Regions from separate parts of the Homo sapiens genome. Here region 1 is linked to region 2. Evidence: promoter capture Hi-C in human tissues and cell types (Jung and others, 2019). All regions are on one chromosome and are shown on one strand. Each heading gives the region's core, a stretch centred on a gene start or on the middle of the fragment in contact. The rest is flanking DNA. Distances are from core to core; before and after follow the strand shown. Region 1 overlaps RUFY1 (RUN and FYVE domain containing 1). Region 2 holds the start of COL23A1 (collagen type XXIII alpha 1 chain).

Region 1 (4,926 bases), core at 2,354-4,853, 980 kb after region 2:
GAAGGCTGAGGCAGGAGAATCGCTCGAACCCGCGAGGCGGAGGTTGCAGTGAGCCGAGATCACGCCACTGCACTCCAGCCTGGGCGACAGAGTGAGACTCCTTCTCAAAAAAATAATAATTAGAACATAGTTCTGTAGATCATTTTGAATTAAAATAAGTGTATCAGCCAGGTGTGGTGGCTCATGCCTGTAATCCCAGCACTTTGGGAGGCCAAGGCAGGCTGATCACTTGAGGTCAGAAGTTCAAAAACAACCTGGACAACATGGTAAAACCCCATCTCTGCTAAAAATACTAAATTAGCTGGGCATGGTGGCATATGCCTATAATCCCAGCTACTCAGGACGCTGAGGCAGGAGGATTGCTTGAACCCAGGAAAGCAGAGGTTGCAGTGAGCCAAGATCACACCACTGTACCTCCAGCCTGGGCAACAGAGCAAGACTCTGTCTCAAAATAAAAAATAAAAAAATAAGTATATAATATTTACAGAAATTTATGACTGGTTCATTTTTTATATTTATAAGTAAGCAATAATCATTATAAAAGGAATGTTCTCTAGACTGTGATGATTTACGAGGAAGGACTCTTTCCAGAGTTAAAGCTTTCTTGTAATTGAGAAATAGATACATTTTACAGCATAGCCTAAAACCCAAGCCTTTCAGTGTTTTCAAGTCATGGCTCATTGTCGAACATATCTTTACACGACAAATACTGATTTACAATATTTCACATACTCTGAGTAGTTACACTGAGTAACTTTGAGTTACAGATTTTCTTCTAATGAACAAAGTATTTTTCAATTTTTTATTTATAATCGATACAAAATTATACATATTTATGGGATACTATGCATGTATACACTATGTAATGATGAAATCAGGGTAATTACCATATCCCTCACTTTACTAATGAACTAATTCTTAAGAGAAAAGTCTTATACGCACACACACACAGTGGCCTGGATGCCACTGGATTTGGTACATTAGCAAGTCATTGCTGACCAGAGCAATATCAGGCAGGGGATGGACCACCCCCTGCAAATGGCCGCGATAACTGGGCAATAAAGGAAGTAAAGCAACAGATGTTGCTCCGTGGGACGCAAGAAGGAGGAGTGTTATTCTTGGATGTGGGATCCCATTTCCTGTTTATATCAGCATAAGTGGAGAAGTAATTCATATCAACACAGAACAGGAGCCAGTGGAGACACAGGAGGGGAGAGTGACAGGAGTCAAGAGGAGACGAGGAGAACTGGGGTCCAGGGTCTGCATGGAGGAGTTAACTTTAGACAGGAGGAGAGGCGAGCCCATTCTAAGCCACAGGAAGAGAGGAGAGGACGGGAGAAAAAGCAGCCGTTGAAGCAGTGAAGAGAAATGAAAGGGAGGGAGGAAATCCACAGCAGTATCTTCTGGCTCCAGGGCACAGGTGAAAAGGCAGTTCAGGGTGGGGAAGGAGTGGGGATGGTGAAGCTGTTTCTGAGCATCGCCCTGTCCTGTCCATCTCTTTCAGCGAGTTCTATGAGCCTGAGGCTTTAATGATGGAGGAAGAAGGGATGGTGATTGTTGGTCTGCTGGTGGGACTCAATGTTCTCGATGCCAATCTCTGCTTGAAAGGAGAAGACTTGGATTCTCAGGTAAAATGAAATTTTGGCTCTAGATGAACACTTTCGTTAGTCCAGGGACTTTACATAGGATCTGCAAACAGGTACTGAACCCAAAGAAGGGCAAATGGCAAAGAGCCCACTGGTAGAGGACCCCAGGGATGCAGCTGGGGAAGGTCTCGGAAGGGTGAAGAAGTTGCATAGCCAGAGGTACACACGGAAAGCTTGGCAGGTTTGGGAACAGGCAGACAGCTCTCCATGGCTGGAGTAGAGGATGCTCTGTGGGCGAGGTGAAAGTGGAGGCTGGGCCTGATAGTTAGGCCATTGGTGCTATGCTGAAGGGTGTAGCTTTTTTGTTGTTGTTTTTTTTGAGACGGAGTCTCGTTGTGTCTCCCAGGCTGGAGTGCAGTGGCGCGATCTCGGCTCCCTGCAACCTCCGCCTCCCGGGTTCACACCATTCTCCTGCCTCAGCCTCCCGAGTAGCTGGGACCACAGGTGCCCGCCACCACGCCCAGCTAATTTTTTGTATTTTTAATAGAGACGGGGTTTCACCGTGTTAGCCAGGATGGTTTCGATCTCCTGACCTCGTGATCCGCCCACCTCGGCCTCCCAAAGTGCTGGGATTACAGGCGTGAGCCACTGCGCCCGGCCTGTATTTTTTTTTTTTAGTAGAGATGGTGTTTCACCATGTTAGCCAGGATGGTCTCAATCTCCTGACCTCGTGATCCACCCGCCTCGGCCTCCCAAAGTGCTGGGATTACAGGTGTGAGCCACTGTGCCTTGCCTGAAGGGTATAGCTTTTATCCCCTTTTATCCTGAGCTTTGGGGAGCTGTTGGAGGTTTTTAAAAAGTACACTGAAATGATCATGCCTGGATTTGAGAAAGCTCAATCTAGCAGCCATTCAGGTTATGAGTTGGAAGTGGCCAAGAATAGATACAGCAAAAGCCTTGAGGAGACTAGTCTAGAAGTCCTGCAAGCCTGGATGGGGAGTAGGAAGATAGAGTCAGGAGAGATTTGGGAAGTCAGGTTGATAAAATGGCACAAAGGAGAGTAACCAGTAAGGTGTAGAGTGCTCTGTGGGAAGGACAGCCCTCTTGGGATGGGCTTTCTTCCTGCATAGGAGCTGGTGACCAGAGCCAAGGCCTAAACTCCTGGTGGCAGGGACTGTAAATGTGTGAGGGGAATAGGTACCCTAACCCATTCCTCACTTCCACCCCCTCTTCGGGGCATCCGCAGCTGTAGCTGGGCCACTGCCCAGAAAAAAGAGATTATTTTACACTACCTAGCAAAATTCCCAGCCTTTTTCCTGCATTGTGTTTGGTGAATCTAAAGATTCCCTGATCCCTCCATGTGCAGGTCAGTGTTTTTTTATAACCTCTCCTCCCTTTAAAAAAAAAAAAAGTTCGATTGTCTTTGCATGTTGAAAAATATCTTTTTTTGAATTCAGAGAAGTATTTTTGAAAAGACACTAAACATCACACATATTCTCATTACTCTTAGACCGATAATTCAGTGTTACATTCTGGTATACACCCTTCTAGCAGATGAATAAAGGTGTGTGCATGCATGTGTGTGTGTATATGTTTGTGTATTTTAGAGTGAGATGTTCGAAGGGTTTCTTTTTTTATGAAACCAAACTATGATTATTTTAAGCACACCATTTTGTAATTTTAAAAAATTTAACAATATGTTCCACACAGTTCTCAATAACGAGAGATATAAACCATTTAAAATGACTATGTAGTATTTCATTTTTTAACGTACAATTATGTAACCAGTACCTTATTAATTTAGATTGTTTCCATATTGTGACAATACTATTGCTGGGCACATGGCTCACGCCTGTAATTCCAACACTTTGGGAGGCCAAGGTAGGAGGATCACTGGAGCCCAGGAATTTGAGACCAGCCCGGGCAAAATAGTGAGACCTTGTCTCTACCAAAAATTTAAAAAAATTAGCCGAGCATGGTGGCATGCTGTCTGTCATCCCAGCTACTCTGGAGGCTGAGGTGGGAGGATTGCTTGAGCCTGGGAGATCAAGGCTGCAGTGAGCTCTAATCATGCCACTGCATTGCACTCCAGTCTGGGCAACAGAGCCAGACTCTGTCTGGAAAAAAAAAAAAAAAACACCAATATTATAGACATCCTTGAAGTTCTCTGTACTCTTGTCCGTGTATTTCCTTAGGATAAATTTGGGGTTGTTGTGTCAAAGTATACAGGCTACATTTTGCTAGATAACATAAAACGGACCTCCAGAAAGGTCTTCATTATATACACCCACCAGCAGTGTGGGAGAGAACACATTTCCTCCTGACACTGGATGTGATGAGCATTCTCAGTCTTTTTCAGCCTCATGGACAAAACAACTCATTATCTCAAATTTACAAGTATTTTCCTGTTTTATTTGCCATTGGTGGTTCAGCATTTGTGATTATCTTTTCATATTCTTTGTCCATTTTTGAGTTTTCTTTCTCTACTTCTTTATTAAAGACTAAGCACATTGACCCTTTTTCAGAATTATTTGTTATAAATTTTTTTTCTGGTTTCTCAGTGGTGGTTTGCCCTGTAAGTTTTTTATTTTTAGTTTTTGGCAACCAGATTTAGCAGATGTTTCCTTTATACCTTCTAAGGTATTGTGCTTTGAAGGTCCTTCCCTATCTAAACATTACCCTAACTTTTAATATCAAATGTGGGGAGCTGGAACCTGAGTCCACGCGTCTGGTTGTCAGTCTGTCCAGCCTTTACCGCCACAGCTTTCAGTCATGGCTTCCAGTCAGTCGCAGCTCGGAAAGCCAGCCCCTGACTTCAAGGCCATTGCCCTGGTGGATGGCGCCTTCCAGGAGGTGAAGCTGTGGGCTACAAAGGGAAGTACGTCGTCCTCTTTTTCTACCCTCTGGACTTCACTTTTCTGTGGCCCATGGAGAACGTCGCATTCAGCGACCATGCCGAGGATTTCCGCAAGCTGGGCTGCGAAGTGCTGGGTGTCTGGGTGGACTTAGTTCACCCACCTGGCTTGGATCAACAACCCCCAGAAGTAGGGAGGCTTAGGCCCCCGAGCATCCCCCACCCGCTGATGTGACGGGAAGCTTGTCTGAAGATTACTGTGTGCTGAAAACCAATGAGGGCATTGCCTACCCTGCCTCTTTATCATCGATGGCAAGGGTGACTTTTGCCAGATCACTGTTAATGATTTGCCTCTGGGGTGCTCCATGGATGAGGCTCTGCAGCTGGTCCAGGCATTCCAGTACGCAGATGAGCACGGGAAAGTTTGTCCCACTGGCTGGAAGCCTGGTAGCGACAATGAAGCCCAATGTGGATGACAAGGAATAC
Region 2 (4,926 bases), core at 1,164-3,663:
CAGCCAGCTTACACTCCACGCACAGCATGCGCCTCAGATACCCAGCTGGGATTAGCGAGCAGGACCACGTGTGAATGGCACGGCAAATTCTCCAGAATACAGGGTTCCCTGGATTCTAAATTTTTCTCTTGCCTTTCTAATCAAGAACAGAGAGAGAGAGAGAACACACACCCTGTCCAATAACTCATTGTTCAAGCACTGTAGTTCACCCAGGTAAAATTCAGTGCAGCCGGGAGGGGGGAAGCCTGGGAGAGCAACTGCAGTCTCTCCCGCTGAAGTTCAGGACTCAAAAATCAACACTTCCCAGCAGTGGCTGCCTGCCCAGGATGCCCCTCCCTCCTAAAATAGACACAATTTGTAGTTCCTTGTAAAATGGTTGTATCAGGACTTCTGATTTACTCAATCAGGGCTTGCGGTTTATTTTTAGCAAATAAGAGAGGCCTCCTATGAGAAAGAGCAGCCACACTTATAGCGCTAACAGGTAGAAACTTTACTGGCCCTCTATAAATCAATTCAACACCCTGGTCTCCAGGCATTTGCCAAAAGCTAATGGGCGGCAATTATGAAACCATCGCCAGGAGTTTCCAGCAGGGCTGAGAGAGAGTTTTAAGTCTGCAGGCCCTTTCAAGGGTAAAATAGGAAATCATTTCATGAAGCAGCAATTTTACCCAGAACCCAGCTAGAAGAGATGTGATCCTAGCTTAAATTAAAGTGACTAAGAAACAGGTGGGGTGAACAAGGAGGTGTGGTACGCAAGTCATCTTCTCCCACTTTCCTTTGGAATCCAAAGGAACTCAACATTGGAAACACAGCTGGATACGTTAATAAAGATCCCAGCTGGGCAGTCTAGGGAATTGGGGGTGTACAGGCCAGTGCTCCCTCTCCTCCACCTTGAAACCCTGCCTGTTTTCACACAGCAATTGAGGATGCGCCCTTGGACAGCGACCTTGGGGTCTGGAGCAGCCATCTATCCCAGGAGAAGGAGGAAGGCTCGGCAGGGGAGGCTCTGGCCAGCCCACCAGGGCCTGTCCAGTTTCGTGGGGAGGGGAACTGCCGCACATGCCGCACACAAAAGGCGGAGGCTTTGACCAACATGCTGGGTGAGGGCTTGGAGGACCCAAAGGTGGCTCTTTCTTTGAAGACACACAGCAGCAATCTTAACCCTTAGAAGTGTCACAGAGCCTCATATGAGCTTTCAAGTAAGCTGTGGAAGTCGCGATTCCCAGGTAAGGGACGGGAAACTCCGGATGTCCTGCGAGCCCACACCCCAGATGGCACCGCCTGAAACCAGAATCCAGGTCCTCCACCCCCGATTGTTTCTCCTTCCTCTCATCTTACCAAGTCATGTGGGCGCCCCCACCCCCATCCCCGAGGCCTCAGTGCGACGGTGACCGCTCAGTCTTGGGGCCTGAGCTGCTGGAGACACACTGGAGCACAGCGGGGCCCAGCCCTCGGGCCTGTCTGAGGCTTTCCTCCGCCGTGACCACCGCCTCTCCAGGTGTACCAGCGTTGGTTAGGAACAGTAGGTGCTACTGGTCACAGTCACCAGATACTTCCCACGAGCCTCATCTTTATCCCCGACTCTGGCCGCCGGCGGGAAGCGGCGTGTCCGAGCGCACACCCCGTGGAGACTGACCCTAGGTCTGTTACTCCAAAGTCCCTGGTCTCTCCTTCCCCTTTCTCGCGGCCGCCTGCCTGGCACGGGACCCTGAGGCCGGAGCGGAGACCGCAAAACCCCTTGGGGCCGGCACCCCCTGCCTCCGCCTTGGCGCAGACGTGCCCATCTCTGGGACGGCCCCGAGCGCACGCAGCCGGCGGGCGACCCTCCTCCCAGAGACCTGCACGCTGCCCCCGGCTCCCAGCGTACCGCCACCCTCAACCCGACACACCCAAGTCCGCCCCAGCCACGCGCCAAGACGCTCACCTCCCGCAGCAGGCGCTCCAGGTGCGGCTCGGCCCAGGCGTCCAGGGCGCCTGGCGGCCCCGCGCGCCGCAGCAGCTCCCGCTCCTCCTCGAGCGCCGCCACCCGGCCCTGCAGCGCGGCCGCCTGGACACCCAGCAGCAGGCAGGCAGCCGCCGAGCCCACGGAGAGCAGCAGGCACAGCGCGCTCACCGCCCGGGACCCGGCCGTCGTCGCCGAGCGCCCTCCGCCGCCGCCGCCCGCCGCATTGCCCTTCCCCGCGTCGCCGCCGCCACCGGCGCGCTCGCCTGGGCCCATGGCGCGTTCGTCGCGCGTGGACTCTCCGAGGGGGCGGTGCTGCTGGGGCAGAGGCTGGGTGCGAGAGGAGCAGGCGGGACAGCCCGAGGCACGAGGTCCGCCGGGCGCGGGGGTTAGCCTCCGGGTAGCAGCGGATCGCCGCGCACGCCCCCTTCGCCGCAGCCAGCTCCTCCACAGCGGCCACTTTGGGCAGTTTCCTCTATGCAAATAGACCCTGCCAGAAAAGGAGCAGGGACCCACCCAGGGGAGGAGCGGCCGGGCTGGCCCCGCGCGGCGAGGGGGCGGGGGCGAGGAAGGAGCGAGCTCCTCGGAGCCACCCGTCGGCGCCGGGCTGATCCCACGCGCAGCGCGCACCTCTGCCCTCACCTAGCCCGGGCGCCGGCACCCGCCCCCGCACGCACCTCTGAGGCTTCCCCAGCCCAAGCCCGCACTGTGGACCCCAGAGGTCGGAGGGGAGCCCGGCGACACCGCGCCCCTTCTGCAGCCCACCCCTGGCTGGAGCACCCACCACTCGTGCCTTAGCACATTCCTCTAAACTTGTGAATTACCTTTCTGACACTTGTAAAAGTTCAAAACTTCAAATCCTGCAAAAAACTGAGTGGGTCTGTCCTCGGTGGTGGATTAGCGCCGCTTCGTGGCGGAAAGCGACCTCTGCGCACTCACATTTAGAGAGGCAGGGTCGAGATTGCGCCAAACAGAAATACGCCCCTTAGAATCTTCTCACGAGTTCTTAGCTGCCGGACTTCGGTGCGGGAAACAAAAATGGTAAGACTGTTTCTGGCCTGGAGAGGGCTTTTGAGAAAACTGAGACTATAACGAATGGGAAAGATTCAGAAAATGAACTTCAAGTCTTGTTCAACTGATGACTTAATTCTGTATTAGACGCACAACTTGGCCAAAAATTATGATCTAGTATGCACCACACTTAACCTGTACTGCGATTCTGCTGCAAATTTAAATCACAGGGCTGAGGCAAGAAGGCTGTGGCGTACAGCCTGGGTCCAGAGAACAGAATGAGTGGCACTAACAAGTCTTGGCAGGAAAGGGAAGAACTGCTGGAAGTCAGGCTGGGTTCAGATTCCTACCAGGCATATTCATGTCCTAAATGGGTCCCAAGTAACTCTTTCGCTAACTCCTGTAATACCTAAATGAAACAACAAACCAGCAGTTCAGATCTTTGTGATTTGAGTAACCCCCCAACCATTTTTTTTTAAGAAAAATAACGTTATATCCATCTTCCCTCTCACTCTGGATATCTTCTGGTTGTCTCATTTCTGTGGATACTCACCTTTTAGAACTGTTGAGTGCCTCTGGCTAACATGTTCCATCTCCTTCCCTTAATTCAGAGGGGAACCCCTGAGATGGCCGGGGGTTATGGTTGATAGACTTGGCTCTGTGCTAAAGTCTGGTGTATGCCCAATAGAATGAAAAGTTGGCCTCATTCTGAAAAGAGGCCAACACCCTCTTACAAGTCAGCACTACATTTCTTACAGGCACATAAACTGCACACCACCTACCTATGTTAATGTTACTGCATGTATTGTTTGCCATGTTCCTGAAGCTTCTGTGTATTGAAAAAGCCAAGCTCACTGGCCCCTGGGCCTCTGCCCTTGCCTACCACCTCACTACCTGCATTCCTGCTCTCAGATCGTTAAACGGCAAGCCCCTCCTCATCCTCCAGGTCAAGGTCCTCAACCTCACTGCTTCTAAAAGATCTTCCCAGACTGCCCAATTTAAGGTGGCCCACAAGATTAATCAGGGAATTGGGGCGGCTGAATTAAGATGGAAATACTGTCTGCAACTCATTCTAAAAGGCGAAAAAGAAAATGACTTACTTGTGTCCATTAGGGTCCTGGAAGAATAGATGGCATCCTCAGAGAGGGTGACTCAAGACAGCCTGAATGTAGAGCCACTTCACAAAGTGGAGATCAGAGGGGCCAGCAGGGGAGGCCGAAGCAGCACTCTGCGGGTATTGACAGTGGGAGGCCATTACCATCCCTAACTGGGAACCCTGGGGAACTTGGAGCTATAGAAGAGGGCTGCTCCACAGCACCTGTGGCCCTTGGTTAAGGGGAACAGCCTCTGCAAAGCCATGGCTTGAAAGGGAGGGAGCTCACAGAATAAATACTCAACTGCTCTCTCCTGCTCTCTGATCTACTGGGGCCTTCCAATGACCAAACCTCCAGGGCAGGGGCCAGCCTCCTAGAGGGCAGAGAGCAGAGGCAGAAGGAAGAAGGGCAGATCTTGAGGGGGAATAAAAGAATATCCACTAACCTATCGTGTGTAGCATCACCTAACAGGTAGACAGCACTTACACCAATCCCGCTACTGCTGCCTATGAATGGCTAACCTGTCAGCAATAGACTAAACAAGGTACTCCTCAGGCAGACTAACTGGCCACGTGGTGGCAAAACAGCTACTTTGGATTCCCTCCTTCCTGCAAGGACCAATGGTTTGCCCCTCACAGGGACAGCACCAGGTGTGGGCTTGTCTTTCCTGCCTGCAGAGCCTCAGCCAGCATTGCTATCCTTACAGAATGCCCAACCCACAGGTACAGGATCTCACACACCACCACACCCAACCAGGGCACCCATTTTACAGTAAAGGTCTGGGGCTGAACCCATGGACCAAGGAATCCACTGGTTGTGTTGCATCCTGCACTGGTCAGGAGCAACCAGCCTCACAGAATACTGGAACTGCCTTCTGAA

What was found. Contacts are between HindIII fragments. The study calls those that stand out against the background at their distance.
Region 1: a contact is called between a fragment that was not itself captured here and the fragment with the promoter of COL23A1 in region 2, in 1 of the 25 tissues and cell types used here (lymphoblastoid cells).

What each region holds. Positions count from the first base shown.
Region 1 is chr5:179,567,798-179,572,723 of GRCh38, forward strand. It overlaps RUFY1 (RUN and FYVE domain containing 1), which reads left to right. Exons shown (of 18, transcript NM_025158.5): 5 at 1,505-1,628. The region is part of intron 4 of LOC128966623 (a long non-coding RNA gene); the gene reads left to right. It also overlaps the pseudogene PRDX2P3. Among named protein-coding and RNA genes, the nearest start is that of RUFY1, 20 kb to the left of the region's middle. RefSeq lists an enhancer at 4,082-4,582. The HindIII fragment of the contact is 4,788 bases long and covers 1,210-4,926 here.
Region 2 is chr5:178,587,980-178,592,905 of GRCh38, forward strand. COL23A1 (collagen type XXIII alpha 1 chain) reads right to left here and starts at 2,414. Exons shown (of 29, transcript NM_173465.4): 1 at 1,925-2,414. The coding sequence starts at 2,218. RefSeq lists an enhancer at 860-1,760 and a silencer at 2,416-2,615. The HindIII fragment of the contact is 6,512 bases long and covers 1-4,926 here.